2 separate regions of the Homo sapiens genome follow, and region 1 is linked to region 2. Evidence: promoter capture Hi-C in 16 types of primary human blood cells and fetal thymus (Javierre and others, 2016). All regions are on one chromosome and are shown on one strand. The core of a region is centred on a gene start or on the middle of the fragment in contact, and the rest is flanking DNA. Distances in the headings are between cores, read along the strand shown. Region 1 overlaps STRBP (spermatid perinuclear RNA binding protein). Region 2 holds the start of CRB2 (crumbs cell polarity complex component 2).

Evidence for each region. Contacts are between HindIII fragments. The CHiCAGO score rates a contact against its expected background, and 5 or more counts as called.
Region 1: a fragment that was not itself captured here is called in contact with the fragment with the promoter of CRB2 in region 2 in 3 of 17 cell types (naive B cells, total B cells and naive CD4 T cells); the score reaches 7.5 in naive B cells.

The regions. Positions count from the first base shown.
Region 1 is chr9:123,148,125-123,153,867 of GRCh38, forward strand. All of the region lies in intron 11 of STRBP (spermatid perinuclear RNA binding protein), which reads right to left. Among named protein-coding and RNA genes, the nearest start is that of MIR600HG, 36 kb to the left of the region's middle. The HindIII fragment of the contact is 2,912 bases long and covers 1,404-4,315 here.
Region 2 is chr9:123,353,225-123,358,507 of GRCh38, forward strand. CRB2 (crumbs cell polarity complex component 2) reads left to right here and starts at 2,973. Exons shown (of 13, transcript NM_173689.7): 1 at 2,973-3,130. The coding sequence starts at 3,037. RefSeq lists silencers at 794-903, 924-973 and enhancers at 936-1,435, 1,104-1,273, 4,654-5,283. The HindIII fragment of the contact is 7,167 bases long and covers 1-4,249 here.

The sequences.
Region 1 (5,743 bases), core at 1,610-4,109, 210 kb before region 2:
GTCTATGATATGGTCTGAATGTGTCCCCCCAAAATTCATATGTTGAAACTTAATCCCCAGTGCAGTGGGATTAGGTGGTGGGGAACCTGGAAGGTGATTAGGTTATGAGGGTGGAGCCCTTATCAATTATAAAAGATGCCTGACAGAGACTGTTTGTCCCTTCTGCCATGTGGGGATACATAGCAGGCACCATCTATGAGCAATGAGCCCTCACGAGACAGCAAATCTGCTGAAGCCTTGATTTTGGACTTTCAAGCCCCTGAGGGCAATAAATTTCTGTTGCTTATAAGTTACCCAGTCTAAGGTATTTTGTTTTAGCAGCCGCACAGACAGCATATATTCACGTTATATGCATGAAGAGAAAAAGTCTAGAAGGCTATATATCAAAATGTTAAAAAGTAGCTACCTCTGGTAGGATTTATTTTTACTTAATATCATTTCAAACATCTCTATAATTTAACATTTATGACTTGTATAAACTTTAGAAGTCCACGTTACATCTTATACTTTTAGAAATCTGATTATCCAACTATAAAATATTCTTCTGCCTCTTCAAATCCTATTCAAAATTTTATTTACAGTTCACCTCCTCTATAAAAATGTTCTCTCATATCAGAGATTTTATATCAGAAATGTAAAGTCTTGTATCATTGCCTATTTCATATATTCTTGTGTGTCTTCAGTGCTCTTTGAAGGTCAAAGATATTTTTTCCTTGTCTTGTATCTTACAAACTACCTTAACACAAGACTTAGAAGCAACATAATGGGCACTGAGCAAAAACTAACTGAATTGATTAATAATCAGTTTCTTGGATAAAGAAGCCACCAATTTATAATGTTGTCAAGCAAAAGGCAGCAGTTTTGCTGTCCAAGTTAAAAATTATTAGAGAAAAGTTCATCAACCTATTCAAGTACTTTAAAGATCTCATCTCTTTATGTCTTCACTTTAAAAGTTAGTTGTTTTTCCTAAGGAAAATTATGCTCAAGATACTCATGCCACAAGATTTCCAGATTCTTCTAGTGAAAGCCTATAATAATAATGAGATTAACTATGTATTTTCTGATCAAGATTTATTGTCCCTTGAGGTAAACACTGACTTCAGCATTTGCTTGGGTCAATATTTACCACTCAGGTTAATCAATCTTGATGTTCTCTTCAACAGAAGGCAACGTTGGCTGAGTATTATATTTCATTTGCATTACATACAACTATGAGTATGCCAGTCTCCCAGAATGCAGTCTTTAAGAGATAAAAGTTAAAAAGGAACTATGTCTATTCAATCACTCTTCTGCTCATTAAGTTACATTAAAAGCAGCTTCTTGATTGCCTGGAAATCACAAGCTAGCTTAAATGCAGAGATCTCTTCTCTAAATCCTCCAGCTACATAGAGTTCTATGGATTAAGCTTCATTCTATCATAGCAGCCATTGGAAAGGGGCTGTAAAATGTGGGGCTAATCATAATAGCAACCTAAGGAGAAAAAGGGTCTTGCTTTACAAAAAGCAGGTGGTATTCAACCTTCACAATATCTAGTGATGAGAAGTGATCATTTCTGAGGCAACAATTTTTAAAAATAATATTTTCGTATTTACCATATGCCTGACACTGTTAACATCTTACAGGTATTAACTTATTTAATCCTCATGAGCACCCTCATGAAGCCATTACCTTTACTGTCCCCATTATAAATTCATTCATATATTCATTCAACAATAAACAAGAAATATTAATTGACATTTACTATGTGCAAGACAATTTTAGGCGCTAGACACATAGCAAGTAACAAAATAATCTCCCTTTTCTCAAAGAGCTTACATATACTGGCCAAAACTAATTACAACATATACTATGGGTAGTGAGTGTAATGAAGGACAATTTATATGTCGTGCTCAGCAGAAAGGTATCACTAATGAGGAGACCTTTTGATGAAGACCTGAGAAAGTAAAACAGTGAACTATTCAGCCATTTGGAGAAAGAGTCCCAGGCAGAGAAAAATAAACAGCAACTACAAAAGTCTTAAGGCAGAAACATGCTAAGAAATGATGCAAAGGCCTGAGTGGTTGGAGTGAAACAAACAAGGAGAGGGTGCTAGCAGTAGGTGAGAAGAGCCAGGCAGTAGTTCTCAAACCCCGGTGCCATTAATTGACAAAATATCAAGGGCCCACTTCCAGTATGAGAGAGTAAATAAGTCAAAAAAGGCTTCCCAACTAGAGCAATTAGAAAAACTGGGCAAAACAAACAATAAGTATCTGTTCCTGGGCAATGAAGAATTTTAAAATCAAGATCTGGGAGGTGAGCCTGGCACGGTGCCACATGCCTGTAGTCCCAGCTACTCAGAAGGCTGAGGCAGGAGGATTCATTGAGTCCAGGAGTTTGAGGTTAAAGTGGGCTATGACTGCACCTGCAAATAGCCACTGGACTCCAGCCTGGGCAACATAGCCAAGCCGTGTTTTCTTAAATAAATAAATTAATTAATTAAAATAAACAAAAAAAGATATGGAAGGTGAAAGAAATTCTCTGCATTGGGGGTTACATTAACCCTAGGGGCATCTTCCTAATCCAGAAGAGGTCACTAAGAACTGAAGAGAGTAATGTCAACAGGCTCCCAGGTCTCAAGGAGTCCAAAACTAAGTTCAAGGTCCAAGCAGAGAAGGGCTGGTGAACCCCCCACACACTGGGTTGGGCCTCTGAAATGTTATACACTAGAAGTAAGATGAACGGGAAATATTTCTTCATCCTTGTGGCTCTCACAAGGATGAAAGCCCAGCTTCAAATTATCTTAATCCCTGACTACACTGAAATGATCTAAGACTGCCAATTTCATTAGTCACCTCCCAGAAACAAATATAAATCCTCCCTGGAGGAAGATATCATTACTCTACACTTTAAATTATCTACAATTTCTTATTTTAAAAATCCAGCACTCATAATAACCAGGCACATGAGAAGATATCATGATCAAAAATCAAGAGAAATCACACACAATAGAAAAAGACCCAAAATGGACCCAGATGATGGACCTTTCAAAAACAAACTTTCTTAAAAATAATTTCAGGCAGAAAATCTGAAACGATAAAAGAGCCAAAAATCTATAAATGAAAAATATAAACTAAAACCTGGCAGGCCTGCAAGGGGAAATGACAAATCCACAATAGATGGGAACTGTCAGAGCTCTCTCAGCAATTAATAACAAACAACATCTGAAAAGCACAATGAACAAGTGACCTGACATGACCTAACACGAAAAAAATATTATGACCCTCAACTGCAGAATATACATTTTCAGAGCAAAAAACGACCATGTGCTGGGGCATAAAATAGGTCTCAAGAAGTATCAAAGGACAGAAATCATACAACACATGTTCTTCGATGACAGCAGAATAAGTAAAAACTCAAAAACAAAAGAGTTAACTACAAAATCTTCATTTGTCTGCAAATTAAGCAATGACATCTAAATACCCCATGGGTCAAAAAATTAGGAATAAAAGAAAGTAAAAAATAGCTTTAACTAAATGATTATAAACATACAAATGTCCAAAGACTGTGATGTACATAAATCTGTGCTTAAAGGGAAATTTACCATCTTAATAGTATATAAAATAAGAGGATGAAAAATCAATGATGTATTCATCCACCTCATAAAGTTTAAAAAGAGCAGCAAATTGAACCCAAAGAAAGTCATAAGGAAGGAAAACTACAGAAAAGAGCAGAAACCAATAAAACAGAATACAAACATGCAACAGAAGACAATGAATAAAGCCAAAAGTTAATTTTCCTATAAAGATTAATAAAAATAATAATCCCCTAGGTGAGAGTCATTAGCAAAATAAAATAAGGTACAAAATGTATAAAAGAGGACATTACTACAAATACTACAGACAATAAAATGAGGATCTTATAAATTACTTTATTCTAAAATATTTTTAAATTTAGTTGAAATGGATAAATTCTTAGAAAAACATAGCTTACCAAAACTGTCCTAAGAAGATGGAAGTCCTATGCTTATTAAGGGAATCAGATCCGTAATTTAAAACATTTCCACAAAGAAAACACACACCAATGGCTTCACTGATTAATTCTTCCAACAGTTAAAGAAAAACTAACATCAAATTTATGCAAACTTTTCCAAACAATAGAAAAAGAAGGAATAGGTCCTAACTTACTTTATGAAGCCAGCATAACATTGAAGCCGAAACACAGGAGAATTGGTGACAAATCTAACACACAAAAACCTGTGTTTTTGTGACTTGCCCACAAAAACCTAAATTTTATATATAAATATACACACGTGTATATATATATGATTGTTCATAGAAGCTTCAACTGTAAAAAGCCCAAACTGGAAACTAACTAAATGTCCTACAATAGGTAAACAGTTAAATAAACTCTAGCTCATTCATACCATGGAATACTACTGAACAAGAAGGTACAAACTATTGACACACACAACAACTTGGATGGACCCTAAGGGCATTATGCTGAGTGTTAAAAAAAAAAATCGCAAAAGGTCACTTATTGTAGAATTCCATTTATATAAAATCACTGAAATTATAAAATTATGGAGATGGGTAAATCTTAGTGGTTTCCCGGGATTAGGGATGGCTGAGCAGAGAGAGGCGGGTACGACTATAAAGGGGCAGCATGAAGCAGATCTTAATGGTGTTGGAACAGTTCTGTATGTTGATTGTGGAGGTGGCTACAGAAATCTACACACGTAATAAAATGGCATAAAACTTACACACACGCACTGTATCACTGTCAATTTCCTGGTTTTGATATTGTACTATAAATTTACATAGATGCAGCCATCAAGAGAAACTAGCTGAAGGGTAAATGGGATCTCTCCTTATCATCTTTGCAACTATGAATCTGCAAGTATTTTAAGATAAAAAGTTGAAGAGGGGTGGTGTTCTCCATAAAGAGAATTGCTTCTTTGTGGAGAACAGATAGAGGGGCAAGAACAGAAGCAAAAAGACCAGACCAGGAGGTGACTGCAATAATCCAGGTGAGAGATGATGGCAGCTTAGATAAGGATGTCAGCAGCGAAGAAGCTAAATTCTAGACTCATTTTTTTTTTTTTTTCTGAGACAGAGTCTCGCTCTGTCACCAAGGCTGGAGTGCAGTGGCATGATCTGGGCTCACTGCAACCTCTGCCTCCCGGATTCAAGCGATTCTCTTGCCTCAGCCTCCCGAGTAGCTGGGATTACAGGAGCATGCCACCACGCCCAGCTAATTTTTATGTTTTCAGTAGAGACGGGGTTTCGCCATGTTGGCCAGGCTGGTCTTGAACTCCTGGTCTCAAGTGATCTGCCCACCTCAGCCTCCCAAAGTGCTGGGATTACAGGTGTGAGCTACCACCCGGCCTGGACACACTTTAAAAGCAAAAAGGATTTGCTGACGTTTGGGATATGGGTGAATGAAAGAGGGGATTCAAGGGCAACTCAGAGAATCCTGGCCTGAGCAAACGGAGAGTTTCCAATGACTGGGACAGGGATAACTATAGAAAGAGAAGAGCAAAGGGAGAGCGAGGGCAGGAGCTTAGATCTTAGACATCTTAAGTTTGAGATGTCTGCTGGACATCCATGTAGCGATATTGAGGAGGCATTTTGATATTTTGGTCTGAGTTCAAGAGCTGGTAGTCTGGGATGGAAGTATTAATTTGGGACAATCTTCAGTATAAAAAGGTATTTGAAGACAAGAGACTAAATGAGGTCCCCTAAAGCATCAGTGTAAAGAGAAAGGG
Region 2 (5,283 bases), core at 1,723-4,222:
CTGTGCCTCCCACTGGCTCACCTTTCCAGGAAGCAGATGGAAGGAAGCCAGCATGACACAGCCCACAGGTGCCAGCAGGGCAAGGGCGGCTCTGGGTGGGGAGTAGGGACAAACAGAACAACCAGTGAGACCCTGAGAAGGGAGATGTGAGACCCTGGGGAATGATCCAGAGCAGGAGTCACCTGGAAGGGTCTGAAGGGGTTCCTTCTGGTGGGCTCCTCAGTGGGGAGGGTCACTATCCTCCCACGACGAGGCTCTGACAGCAGCCGCCCAGTCCTTGCAATGTTCTCAGGCAGATGCTGTGATGATCCCATTTACAGATGGGAGAACTAAGACGCAGAAAAGGAACAGACCAACAAAAGCTCACCTAAGGGCAGAGAGCAGGAACCGGATTCAAACCCAGGTCTGCCTGATGCCAAAGCTGGGACTCCCAACCACTGAACCTTGCTGTCGCATGTGCCCATCAGCTTGAGAGTTGGTGGGAATCCCGGCCCAGGACAGCGTCCCCTCAGCCAGGGAGGTGGCAGCAAGTCATGCTCAGGCTAGTGGAGGGGCAGTTAGTAACCTGCAGTCGGAGGTTCACCAGTGGAAAGGCTGGAGTCGGGCAGACCCAACTCGAATCCTGCCAGGCACTGGTGCTGGGCTGCTCACCTCTCTGTGCCTCGGTTTCCTCATCCATAGAATGGGGCCAATGCTGACTTTGCAGTGCTGCTGGTGGGTGGGGGGGGGGTAAACTGAGGTTATGTCGATTCCCTTCCCAGGTGGGGAGGACAGGGGAAGTGGATGCACCTGGGGGACCATCTCAGAGGAGCTGGCCCACTCTTACTGCCTTCTCCAGATCCGGACCAGGGAGCGGTCAAGATGGTGTGCCCTTGTCTGACCTCCGTCCTGCCTGCTGTCCAGCGACTCCCTGGCTTCCTCCCCGTCACGTGGGACTCCTGTACCCGGTGCTGTCGGGGGAGCCCCCCTCCATACCCTCCAGACCTCACAAGACACTTCCAGGTCTGGCCACAAGGTGGAGTGTGGCGGCTGCAGGACAGTGCTGGGGGCCGGGCTGCAGAGGAGACTGGACCTGCGCCGGGTGACCTCCCCGCTCTGTGAAAGTGTGGGAGTTTGTGTCTGTGCATCCAGAGAACCAGAGGGTGGTGGTTGACTTGCCGTGCTCCCCCCAGCCCCCCATTGGGATTGCCTGGGTCTCTGGGGGATCACTGAGAAGCTGGATAAAGAGAGCTGGCACTGTCGCCTTGGCTCACTAACGCCACCATTTTACAGGTGAGGAGACTGAGGCCCAGAGAAGGAAGTCACGTGCTGAGGTCACCGGCTAATCAGTGGCTGAGCTGGGCTCGAACCCAGATCTCTTACGCTGTGAGGCCTCTGCTTTTCCTGTGGCATGGAGAGGGGCTTCTCCCACCTGGGGAGAGGGATCCTGTTGTATTGGAGAGGCAGGGGATTAAAGATGGACTGAGAGAGGTTAGTGTCCCAGAAACCAAGGGGCAATCCCTGCCCTGGAGAGAACAGGCCTCAAGGGCAGGGATGGGGCAGGGGCAGTGGATAAGGAGTCTACCCAGGCCTTTTTGGGTTCCCTCCTTTGGTCCCTGGGGACCCAGGGCTGTGGCACTTGCCCCGGGCTAGAGGGTCGGCCAGGGCCTGTGTGGTGCCCACTGCTCCCTCCCCTGCACTGCAGGGGACCCTTGCCCATCCCTCTAGCTCATCTGGACCTCCCTCAATGGCTCCTGCTGTCTTTCCAGGCTGTGTCCTCCCGTGTCAGGGACACATCCCAGAGCCCAGGGCCTGCGTGGGCTGTATCCACGGTTACTGAATAGGGACAAACAGGCATGTATTGGCAGGGGCCGGTGGCTCATTTCAGGAAAGTCCCTTCAGCAAGAGGATTCTCTCCCCACTGGGGCTGAGGGTGGTAGAAGAAAGGAATGTTGTTCTATGTTGTAGTGTCTCTGAGATGACCTGGCTTCCTGAACCAGGTCCCCCTGAAGAGCTCCTCCTGTCCACCCCAACAAGAGGCCAGCTGGAGAGCAAGCAAACATCGAGTGCAGCAGGAGACTATAAGGTTAGACAACAAGAAGGACTTCCTGGCAGGGGAGAGCAATGCTTGCTTGGTTAGAGCTGCCTTTCAGTAGAATGGGCTGCTTTGGATTGCAGTGAGGTCGCTGGAGTTGCAAACAGCAGAGCCAGAGATCAAGGTCAAGTGGAAGAAAGCTGGGAAAGGTTCAGTTTGGCTGGTGAAGGGTGGAGAGGGTAAAGGGAGGCAGGGACCACCGTGGTGCAGGGGTGAGGTGCCCTGCAGGGAGCTGATCCTGAGGCCGATGGTGGGAGGAGCTGTGTGTGGTCGGGTGGGACGGGGTGGGGACAGCAGGAGACACTGAGAAGGTGGCATGGCCAGGAGCTAGGGGCTGACCGAGTGTGGGGAGGGGGGAGTGGGGAGGGGGCGTTGGGCTGCCCGATGGGAGGTGCCTTGGCTCCGATGGGAGCACTGGGGAGCAGCAGGTGGGGGGACGAGCTGGGTGGGAGGGGCTGCAGCTTCCCAGCAGAGACAGGGTCTGGGAGGCGACTGGACTCGAAGGCCTGGGCTTGGGAGAGAGGCCCGGGCTGGAGAGGTGGGGAGGGGGATCCAGGAGAGGGGATAACTAAGGACTTGGGAGTAGCTGGCATCACCTGGTGAGACGAGAGTCCTGAACAGCCCCCTCTCCAAGGACAGAAATTTCTCCAAGGAGGCTGACCTGAGAGGTGGGAGGAGAGTGGGGCAGAGGGTCAGGAGGGAGAAACCAGTGGGTGCCAAGACCAGGTCAGCCCCACAGGCTAGGGGGCTTGAGGACTTGGGGCTGATGTCTAGGGACGTCCACGAGGTGGAGCAGCCCAGGAGGCCTGGGTGGGAGGAGGAGGCGGTGGCGGGGAGGGGAGGGAGGGGCTGGGCCTCTGTCCACAGCATTAGTGCTGGTTGGAGGGACGAGGGGGGTGCGGAGCCAGCCAGGCCGCCCTCCCGTTCTCACAGCAGCCGAGCAGAGCGCAGAGCGGGCTGCCATGGCGCTGGCCAGGCCTGGGACCCCGGACCCCCAGGCCCTGGCCTCTGTCCTGCTACTGCTGCTCTGGGCCCCTGCCCTTTCCCTCCTGGCTGGTGAGTTGGGGCCCATGTCTGGAGGGGCCTGGGAGAGGGTCTGTCCCCCAAGACAGATACCCCAAGCCTTGGCTGCTGGGGTGGTGGGTGGGCTGGTCCGCGTGGGTGCAGGCCTGAGCTGTGGGGTGCACAGGAGTGCGCGGCTGTGGCCCCCAGACTCTGTGGGGCTCCACGGAGGTGAGTGTGTTCTGAGGCTCGGGGCTGTTTCATGTTGAGGGGGGTTGTAAGTTTCGGGGTTGGGGGATCGGGGGCTGGGCATGATTTGGGGGAGCTGATGCGGGTGAGGGATGGGGTGCGTGTTTTGGGAGGTGCTGTGTTGCATCCTGTAAAGGGCTGGGGGACTTCTGGGTTTCTAGGGGCTGAGTTTGGGGAGTTGCAGGTGGCATAAGCCTCACCCCAGAGCTTGTTCTGTGTCGCATGCTGGGTTGTGGGGCACAGGTTGTGGGTGTGTTAGAGTTGGGAGGTGGATGAGCTGTCTGGGGTGAGCCGTGAGTTGTGTCCGAGGAGTTGGGTGTGGTGAGCTGTGTCCTAGCACACGCTGTGGGGTGTAGGTTGTCCAGGGTTGAACTAGGTCTTTGCTCTCAACATGAGGGGTGTGGGATGTGCACAGCCGACCCCAACTCGGGACTGAGTGGAGAAGCGTGAGGGAGACTCAGGGAGCTGGGTGCCTGCCCGCACCCCTCCATTTGTGCGGTAGCCCTGCCTGTGCTGAGGGCTGCTGGGGATGCTCTGGGTCCCTGTGGGGTGGCTGGGGATTTGGGAACATGTGTGTGTCCCCTGCTGCCCCCTCCCCAGCATTCCAAGGCCAATCTGAAAGGGCTCCCTGAAGCCAGACCACATTTGCCAAGCCCTTTTTGCTTTTGTCCAAGCTCTCGGAGCCTGGAATTCCTCCTGGGGGGTCCAAGGGAACGCTTGGTGTTAGTTACTATAGTTACAGGGGCCGGGCCTGGGAAGTCCCCTGCCCCCACCACCACAGGCTGGGGAGGGAGCCAAGGAGGGCCTGGGCTCTCCTGAGGCTGGGGGAGCCCTCCCTGCCCCAGAGCTCCACAGGCTGTAGGGTGTGGGGGCCAAGTGTCTCCCAGTCCCACCTGGGGACCCTCATGTTTCCCGCACTCACAAAGCTTTCATTTCCTATCCTCTCTATGGGGCCCTAGGGAGGATGAGGACCCCATTTTGCAGTGAAGGAAACCAAGGCTCAGAGAGGGACGGGGACTTATGAGCTGGGCTCTGCTGGCAGGCGACTTGGGCTCCATAGAGGGGTGGGGCATGGTGGCGGGGGGCGGGGTGGCTGCTCCTCTCTGTTCTCTGCATACAAAGCACGTGAGATCCCGGTCTGTGGATCGGTGCTCTGTCCCCTGCCCTGTGATGCTCACACACCCACACTCCGCACACCTGTGTGGCATGCCCAAGGGCACACAGCACCACAGGGACAGGTGCTACAGACACATGTGGATCTACCAGCACATGCACCTACCTACACACATGGCATGTGCCTGCACACCAATGTGCACACCCCAACACGCACATGTGGACATGTGTGCATTCACACTCAGTGTGCACTCACAGGGGACCTGGAGGCACAGAGTGGATGGAGGCTGTGGGGGGTCTGGACACTGGTGTGTACACTCAACCCATCAGGCCTGCTGGGTTGCCCAGGGGCAGCCTTTCCTCTGCCATTTCTGTGCTGGGAGCGCCATCCCTGGGGATCCCTAAAAGTTGGTGGGGTACACTGCAGGCATGACCATTTCTGCATGCTGGTACCCTAGACTGCCTGCCGGGAGGGGAGGGATTGGGGATTTTGTCACTTGAAAACCAATTTCCATCCTGGAGGGGATGGGGGCTTCTGGAGGCCATGGGCCCCTGGCTTTTCTCCCCACCCCTGCCAGGCCCTGAGCTGGGCCTCTCCATCCTGGGCCCAATTTGCCACAAAGGCCCGGCTGGTTGCCATGGAGAGGACCAAGCATCTTGGAGTACAATGGGGCACGTTGGGCTCTCATATCCACCCTCCCTTCCCCAAACACCCAGGGAGCCCAGCAGACAAAGGGGCAGTGAGTCCAGGCCCCAAGTCCGGCCCCTCCTCCAGCCAGAAGGGGGTGGGGGCCTGCAGGACAGAAGCAGAGATGGAGCAGAAAGCCACACACATTCAACCCAAT